Linked DNA regions of Homo sapiens: region 2 is linked to region 1. Evidence: promoter capture Hi-C in 16 types of primary human blood cells and fetal thymus (Javierre and others, 2016). All regions are on one chromosome and are shown on one strand. Each heading gives the region's core, a stretch centred on a gene start or on the middle of the fragment in contact. The rest is flanking DNA. Distances are from core to core; before and after follow the strand shown.

What was found. The method cuts DNA at HindIII sites, captures the fragments that hold promoters and counts their contacts. A CHiCAGO score of 5 or more calls a contact.
Region 2: a fragment that was not itself captured here is called in contact with the fragment with the promoter of ZFR in region 1 in 1 of 17 cell types (total CD8 T cells); the score reaches 5.9 in total CD8 T cells.

What each region holds. Positions count from the first base shown.
Region 1 is chr5:32,441,551-32,446,281 of GRCh38, reverse strand. It overlaps ZFR (zinc finger RNA binding protein), which reads left to right and starts at 1,542. Exons shown (of 20, transcript NM_016107.5): 1 at 1,542-1,660; 2 at 1,954-2,053. The coding sequence starts at 1,624. RefSeq lists silencers at 1,240-1,929, 2,160-2,499 and an enhancer at 1,891-2,448. The HindIII fragment of the contact is 7,512 bases long and covers 1-4,731 here.
Region 2 is chr5:34,941,293-34,945,630 of GRCh38, reverse strand. It overlaps DNAJC21 (DnaJ heat shock protein family (Hsp40) member C21), which reads right to left. Exons shown (of 12, transcript NM_001012339.3): 8 at 606-764. Among named protein-coding and RNA genes, the nearest start is that of DNAJC21, 14 kb to the right of the region's middle. The HindIII fragment of the contact is 3,892 bases long and covers 1,143-4,338 here.

The DNA of each region.
Region 1 (4,731 bases), core at 293-2,792:
AAGACGGAGTCTCGCTCTGTCGCTCAGGCTGGAGTCCAGGGGCGCGATCTCGGCTCACTGCAACCTCTGCTTCCAGGGTTCAAGCGATTCTCCTGCCTCAGCCTTCTGAGTGGCTGGGACTACAGGCGCCCGCCACCACGCCCGGCTTTTTTTTTTTTTCTTTTTTTTTGAGACGGGGTTTCACCATGTTGGCCACTGACCTCACCTCGTGATCCACCCGCCTCGGCCGCCCAAAGTGTTGGGATTACAGGCGTGAGCCACCGCGCCCGGCCAGCATTTCCTTTTAATGTTCATATCCAACAATGAGGAGAGATGAGGAGCAGGGAGTCTGGGGGATGGGCATGGAGAAGGTAAGGAAGAGGTGAAATGCAGGCAGTACATATGTACTTGATGGAAGACACGAAACATAAGGCCAGAGAAACTAGACGATCAGAAGAGGGACTGGAAGAGGAAAGAGAATGGTTGAAAACGAACTGAGAAACTAAAGGGAAGAAAGCGAGGAAACAGAGGGAAAGAGGAAATGCTTACATGGGGGCAAGTACTGTTCTGTCCTTACCACTAAAGATCTGGCACGTGATCTGGTCTCCCTCTCACTTGACTCCAGCCAGACTGATCTTCTTGCTCTTGAACATTCATTCCTTCATCTGGACCCTTCCACTTGCTGCTCTTCCTGCAGGCATCTCCCAGGCCTGTCCTTCCTTCCTTCAAGTGGTCTCCCTAACCACACTCTACATGAAATAGCACCTCCCTTACCCTTATTTTCCTTACTCTGCTTTATTTATGCTTGAAGCTCCAGTCACCATCAGACAGAATTTCTGTGTTTTGGCTACCGGCTGTTGGCTGACATATACCCGCTCCTAGAACGTAAACTCCACGGGAACAGGGACTTTGTTTTGTTCTCTGCCGTATCTCCAGCACCTACAACACTGCCTGACACCCTGCTGGGTGACCGATATACGCCGGATGGCTCAGGGAGTGGGTGCAGGTCGAGGAAAGGGTATAGCAAGAGGTATGTCCGGGAGGGATGTTTAGGGTGTGCTTTTAGTCCAACAGAAAAGCACTCTCCATCCTTTTTCTATTTCTCTCCTCTCCTTCTCCCTCCCTCCGCACTTCAGAGGTTGGGGAAAAGCTGCGGGAAAGCAGGAAATAAGGAAAAATCCTAAATTGCCCAGCTCGAATTCCAATGAAAAATTAATGAGCGAGGAAGACAGGGAGGCAGGGAATAAGTGCACATGCAAAAGTTAAGGAAGCCAGTGGAAAGCAAAGAAAAAGGCGAACAGACGTCACTCTCTCTGGTCACGCTCCCCGACTCCCCAGAGGACAGGCGAGGCGCTTCTGGCACACGCCCCCGTCGCCCCGCGGCCGCGCGGCGTCACCACCACTTCGGAGAAGGCCAGGCCCCTCTTCCCCCGCGGGCTTCCCCGCGCCCGCACCGCCGAGGCCCCGGCACGCGCCCGGGGGAGCCGCGAAGACGGCGGGGACTACAGCTCCCAGGATGCCGAGCACAGGCGCGCCTGCGCAGTGCGGTCGGAGGCGGCGGTCTGTTCTCCGCTGAGGAGGAGCGGGGCAGAGGAGGGAGGCAGCGGGTGAGAGTTCAGAGTTCAGCAGCAGCAGCCCGAGCCCATGATTCCCATATGCCCTGTAGTTTCTTTCACCTATGGTGAGTCTAATGTGGCCCGCGAGGCCTCTGCCCGGCCCCCTCCCTGGCCCCGGGCAGCGGGGAGCCGCGGGGGTTGGGGCAGGCTCCGGGGAGGAGGCGGCGGCCGCCACCCGGGCGTGCGAGTGAGTGAGGGAGTGCGAGGCGGGAGGGGGAGGCGGCGCGGCCGCGGCCTGGGCCCCGCCAGGGCTGCTCTCACGGCGCCTCTCTCTTTCTCTCCCTGCCCTCCCTCGGCGTCTCGGCTCCTCTGTGTCTCTTGTCCCGCCATGGGACCCGACTCTTCGTGCCCGCCGCAGTGCCCAGCCGGCTGGGGGAAGATGCCAAAATGGCGACCGGCAACTACTTTGGATTCACCCACAGCGGGGCGGCGGCGGCGGCGGCTGCGGCCCAATATAGGTAACGGCATCCTGCCTTCTCTCTGTTCGCCCCTTGCTCTCCCCTCGGTCCGGATCCTGTCGATGCGACGCCCCCGCGCCCGTCCCCAGCCATCCCAGAGCCCCGGCCCGCTGCAGGCCTGGCCCGGCCCAGCCCGGCGGCCTCTCCCGCCCCGCCCCGCCCCGCCCCGCCTTGCCCGGCCCGGCCCGGCCCGCGGCGGGGAGCGGCCCCCAGTAGGGGGGAGGTAGAGACGGCGGAGGTGTAGGGACGTGGAGGCCTCAGGGCCCTTCAGCGGCCCCTTAACTAAAATGGCCTCCTGCGGCCGCCGAGCGGAGCCGCCACCGCCGCCCGGCAGGCCCCCCAGTCCCCGCCTCCGCGCGTCCAGCCCCCACCTCCCATCTTCTTCCCACTTGGGGGATGGAGAGGGTGGCTGAAGGGACCTCACGGGGAGTGCCGTGTCGCAGGTCCACTGGCTTCTCGTGCGACGCCTCTCTGCGTCGTCGCCTGGTGCTTCAACCCCCGGAGCCCAGATAACGTGTCGTTGTCTCGGGTACCTTTTCCTCCGCCGTGGGGCTTCTTCCCCAGACGCTCCATCGCTAGCGAGTCCTGCTGACAAACTGCGGGTGTCACTGTGTTCATCGGGTTCCTTTAGTTTTTCCTGCAAGGAGAGAGATTCACATACCAACCACCTGTAAATTGTGTAGTTCTTAGACTGGAAAAGATGTGCGAAGTTTCTAGTGCTGATAAATGAGTGCCCAGCCTTGTTTGAGCTATGGAGTTTAGGCCCCAGGTGGGCCTGTCATTCTCCTTGCGGGGGTCTTTCCCCTGCGGGGAATGGTGGGGAGGGAAGAAGATGCAAGTGAGATTGTACTGAGTCATTGTAATGCACCGGATGAAATCCCTGCTTTAAGGGAAGCTCTCATTTCTGAAGTCTGTAGTTCATTATACATCTTACCAAAGACAAACACAACAGTGGATTGTTAAATTGTTACTTTTGAGTCAATCTGAGACTTTTGATTCAGGCCATAAGCGCACACGGCTCCTGCGTGATATGCTTTTTATGTATGTTAGATGTTGGTTAAACCCAGGCAGTTTTTTTCATTTGATTTACTTCAGGAGGCACGGTGTTTAATGGAAAGGGCATCATTGGGAGCCAGAAGACCCGAGTTCAGTCTCTTTTGCTCTTGATTTTTTTTTTTTGAATAAATAATTTTTCTTAGAGAGAAAGGACCTATGTTGCCCAGGCTGATCTCGAACTCCTGGGCAGAGTCCTGCCTCGGCCTCCCAGAGTGCTAGGATTACCGGCATGAGCCACCACACCTGGCCTCTTTTGCTCTTGATTTTATGACGTTGGGAACATCATATAGTTGGGTTTTCATGTTCATCATCTGTAAAATGAGATGCTGGGCAAACTATCTTTTTGGGCTGAAACTTGTGGTTTTGAGAAACCAAGTTACTGTTTTCCATGGCATCCTAAGATGCCATTTGTTGTAAAAGGTACCATTATTGTATGTAGCACTAAAAAAAAATGCTGCCAGTTAAGACACTGCTTAAGACTCCATTAAGAGATGTCAAAATGTATAAATGTGCATCATATTGGTGAAACTAGATTTTACTAATTGTTGAATGCCATGTGGCATTTTACAAGTGTTTTTTCATGAGGCCTGCATTCCAGAAAAAGCACTGAGATGACAAATTATTACAGCAAAATCTTGGGGGCATTTCAAGTATTAGCAAATCGTTTGCTTATAATTTTTGATAATTAGACAAAAAAAGTTTCAGCTACTTTGATAAAACTTTTTAGGACTTTTAAAAAATTCAACAGCTTTTTGGGGTACAAGTGGTTTTTGGTTACGTGGACTAATTATATAGTGAATTCTGAGATTTTAGTAGGGCTAATAATTTTCAAGGAGAGGAAAAAACCATCTTTTTCTCAGAAGAGATAGCTAATCAGCATCTGTGCCATAAATCTGCTGGCAATTACTAGTATTCCGTCTAGAAAAGATTGTGTTTAACCATTAAAATTTTACTTGTTTTACTCAGGTTTTTTCTGTTTTCCTCATATGGGCTGAGTGATAAGATTTGTTGAATTACTAACTTTATTTACTGTAAAGTGGTGGGTTCTTTGTGGCACTTCTGAAATGTTTTTCCTAAATGCAGACCTACAGATAGAAATGAAGAAAGGAAATGCTGATTTAAAGATAATTAATAATTTTTTGATAAAATATTTATGTGATTGTTTTATCCCAGTATAGGGAACTGTGACAGAATTTCTGTTTCTAATAATTTTTTTTTTGGCCTTGAAACTGAAAAGTTTAAACTGTAACAACAATCCAGGTTACTAAATTGATTAAGTGTACATCTGATGAGAAAAGACTAGTCTTTTGACATTACTTATATTGCTAAAACTTAGGCACTCTTGTACATAAGGCCTTGTATATAAACATAGTACATGAAAAGTGTTTGCATTTAATGGCAAGAAATCAGGCCCAATAATACTGGGAATTTTGGCAAGGAAGATGAATGAATAACATTAATAACAAAAGCACATGCAAAAAGTGTGGTGGTGATGCTAATTTTTCTTCCTGGCTGGAAATAATTATAATGGAACTTTTAGAGATGGAAGACCAAGGTCTACTTTACTAATATTTTTTCAAATTTGAAGATCTCAAACTCAGGAAAATCTTAAGTACAGTTCA
Region 2 (4,338 bases), core at 1,839-4,338, 2.5 Mb before region 1:
AAAGCATTAAAAGGAAAATAAAGTATTCACATTGTCATTTTAGAGAATAACACAAGGCTGTAGTTCAATGGATAGTAATTAGCTTATCAACTGCCAGGTATAAAAACTGCTTTTAATATAGTGATAATATGTTCTATAAATATTATAGTTGACGTCTGTATCCACTTCAACACTATAAAGTTCCATTAACTAGAAAATATGGAGACAATCTTTTCTAGTTAGAATAACTTCCTTGGGATAAAACAGCCTTTAAGGCCGGGCGCAGTGGCTCACACCTGTAACCCCAGCACTCTGGGAGGCTGAGGCAGGTGAATTACCTGAGATCAGGAGTTCAAGACCAGCCTAGCCAACATGGTGAAACTCTGTCTCAACTAAAAACACAAAAATTAGCTGGGCGTGGTGGTGTGTGCCTGTAGTCCCAGCTACTTGGGAGGCTGAGGGAGGAGAATCACTTGAACCCACAAGTTGGAGGTTGCAGTGAGCTGAGACTGCGCCACTGCACCCCAGCCTGGGCAACAGAGTGATTCTCCATCTCAAAAAAAACCTTTTAATGCAATCTCTGAATGTGATAAGTATTTCTAGTGACATTTAATATTTAGAAGTACTTTTGTTTTGGTGCATCTTCCATTTCTTCCTCAGAATTGTCATCTAATGGATTTTCATCAATTTGAGGTCTTGAAAAATTTTCTTCTTCCTCCTCCAGCTGTTGTTTTAGCAAGGCCACCATTTCCCGATGCTTCTTTGACTTCTCGTGATTCTTCATGCTGAAAGAGCAATCTGACGTGAGCAGCTGCGCTAAAATTAGTTCACGTGTCCAGATAATGTTGCTGGATAACTGCAACCAAGATAAAATTAGCTTTTTTCCCACTAAGCAAAACGTTTCTGATTCTATTTATTTTTTTCTTTTTTTTTATTTGTTCATGATTTTATACAGAGAAACAGAACGTGTCAGGATTCCTTGGCAGTGAGCATACTGGAAGCTCGTGGCCACACTCTTTCTTTCCGTACCACAGCTTTCCCTGTCTTTCTCTGTCCTTTTATCTACATACATTTTCTTCCTTTCTGGGGATGGGGGAATGTCGGCAGGGGGAGGTTTGGACAAATTCTCTACTTATTATTTTGATTTTTCAATTCTTAAAGCTTCCGCCATTGTTTTCTTTTAATCACTAAGTATTTGCTAAGTGTTTTTACATTCCAGGCCATCCCACAGACTTGGAGGGATCACTGGGAAATTAGAAGACACACATTTTAATGTTAAAAGGAAGAGCCCCCTGGACTAGAGAAATGGTGGTGGGAAGGCTTGAAATACAAGAGCAGTTTACTGCCTCTTGCTTTTTCAACAGCTGCTTTTCACCTTCTCAGGAGAGGTCTCCTTTCTCACTCTCACCACCGTAACGTACATTCAGACACATCTCTATCCCTGTGTTCAAAACCCTGCTGGCAATGTCTGTCTCAGCACACCTACAGGCAACTAAAAAGCATTCAACAAAACAGGGTTGACAACATAAGCTACAAGAGTTATATCAACTAAAAAGCAGGAAACTTTGTCAACTATCTACTTCATCTCATCTGTTCAGGCTTTTGGTATTATAGTTTTAGTTGCTGTTTTTCTTTCCTACTAAAATTCTCCTTGAGACCAAGCTGCCCTGGAGATAATGGAAGATCCTGTGTCTGAAAGTAAGTCCTCCAAAAAAGTTATAAGCACATGTCAAAAGGACACAAGGGTGGTTTGAAGGAATGCTCACTAACCAATTCTGGAAAAATTTGAGCATGAAAAGGTCAGTAATGAATTATAAAACACTGAAAAAAAGAAATAAATTCAAACTGATAATAGATAAATGGATAAAAGGGAAGGCTCCTGTTTACAGCAGAAGGCCAAGTGCTAACTGATAAAAACTTGAGGGGGTACTGGCACTGGAAAAGCATCATTCTGCAACCATCATAAAAAAGACTGACGCAAGCTAAAACCATCAACAGATGCTAAAGCTATGAGGAAAACTTTTATGAGAAGCAAGATATCTGCATAGTTTTAAAGTGTCTCCTCACAGATTAAACATGTTACAAGGGAAAACCTGTTGCAAGGGAAAAAATACTAACTCTATAGTAAAATTAGTAGTATAGTAGTAAAATTAGATGACACCTTGATTGGGTGATGAAAATTATCACGACAAATGAGGGGTAGAAGGACTTTACGTGTCTCCAGCTATGAATCCCTGAGAGCACAACATGCTTGTGCGGCGTCCCTCCTGGGGCTGCATAACCTGAATCTAATCATGAGGAAATGCACAAAGACAAAATGAGAAGAATTCTATGAAAAAAGTGAAAACAGTGTACTTCTAAAATGTAAACAGCATAAAAGACAACACAAGCTGTTCCAGATTATGTTCTTAGACTGCATTCTGTATTGGAGAAAAATTCTATATTAATAAATAATTGATTGGCAAAATTGGAATGCAGGTAGTAAATTAGATAAAAATACCATATCAATGTTAATAATTTCTTTTATTTGGTCACTGTAGCATGGTTACATAAGAGAATAACCTTACTTTTTTTTTTTATTTTGAGACGGAGTTTTGCTCTTATTGCCCAGGCTGGAGTGCAATGGCACGATCTTGGCTCACCACAACCTCCGCCTCCTGAGTTCAAGCGATTCTCCTGCCTCAGCCTCCTGAGTAGCTGGGATTACAGGTATGCGTCACCACGCCCAGCTAATTTTGTAGTTTTAGTAGAGACGGGGTTTCTCCATGTTGGTCAGGCTGGTCTCAAACTCCCAACCTCAGGTGATCTGTCCACCTCAACCTCCCAAAGTGCTGGGATTACAGGCGTGAGCCACTGCGCCCAGCGAGAATAACCTTATTCTTAAGATATAGTGAAGTATTTAGAGGTAAAGGAACACTATATATGTAAGTTACTTTCAAATTATTCAGAAAAATACTGTGTGTGTGTTGAGCGTGTAGAGAGAAAGAGGACATGCAAATTGTGCAAAACGTTAGTAACAGGTCAATCAGACACACTATATTCTCTTCTTGCAATTTACCTTTAAGTGTGTCATTTCCAAATAAAAAAAAATTTTTAATCTCCTTCATTGTTGACCTTTTTCTTGCTTGTTTCTAATTTTTCTGCCTCTTTCCACTTCCCCTAGTACTCTGTCATTTCTCCCTGAGGTCATATGGTAATACCATTTATGACTCTCACAGCGCCATTCTCATCCTTTGGCCTCCTTTCTCTCTGATTGCCCATTTTGCTTTTTTTCCCTTGCTGATTCTACTCCCATTTTCTCCCGTGTTGTTTCCTCCCTCCTTTATAATAATGGTATCCGTTTTAATACTTCTTTCTTCATCATTGTTCCCCTAAGATAAAGTTCTTCCACTTCAGCAAAGATACTCTGGGCCAGACAAGTTTAAAGCCCCTATATTGGCAGCATCAGCCTGCATGGGACAATGATGGTGGGAAGTGAGTCTGACACCAATGATGGAGGGAGATGATTAGACACGGTCTAGACTTTTTGCCCATGTGACTATGTCTTCTTTGCCAAAACAAGCAATGCTTCTGGAGACAGTGCATGTGTTTTAAAAGCAGCTATAGGAATACTGGGATGAGTGACAATCAGTACAACAGGTTTAATGGCAGGTACAAATACCTCTTTCTACCCTGCTGGAAAGGAATCCCCCGAGACAGTATGTGGGGCTAGTTATCAACTGCTACAAGCACATTGTTTTTAGAACTTTCAAAATGTTACACTTCACCTCAAAAAAAAACACAAGGGCCAGGCGCTGTGGCTCACGCCTGTAATCCCAACACTTTGGGAGGCCGAGGTGGGTGGATCGCCTGAGGCCAGGAGTTTGAGACCAGCCTGACCAACATGGTGAGACCCTGTCTCTACTAAAAATACAAAAATTAGCTGGGTGCGGTGACCTGCATCTGTAGTCCCAGCTACTCGGGAGCTTGAGGCAGGAGAATCGCTTGAATCCAGGAGGTGGAGGTTGCAGTGAGCTGAGATCGTGCCACTGCACTCCAGCCGGGGCAACAGAGTGAGACTCTGTCTCCAAAAAAAAAAAAAAAAAAAAAAAGAAAACACAAGTTCAGAGATACTAAACTTACTCCTTTTAACTGGATGCAGTGGCTCACGCTTGCAATCCTAGCACTTTGAAAGGCTGAGGCAGGTGGAACACTTGAATCCAGGAGTTCAAGACCAACCTGGACAACATGGCAAAACCCCATCTCCAAAGAAAATATTTAGGTTGGTGCAAAAGTAACTGCAGTTTTTTAGCTGGCCATGATGGCAGGTTCCTGTAGCCCTAGCTACTTGGGAGGCTGACATGGGAGGATCATCTGAGT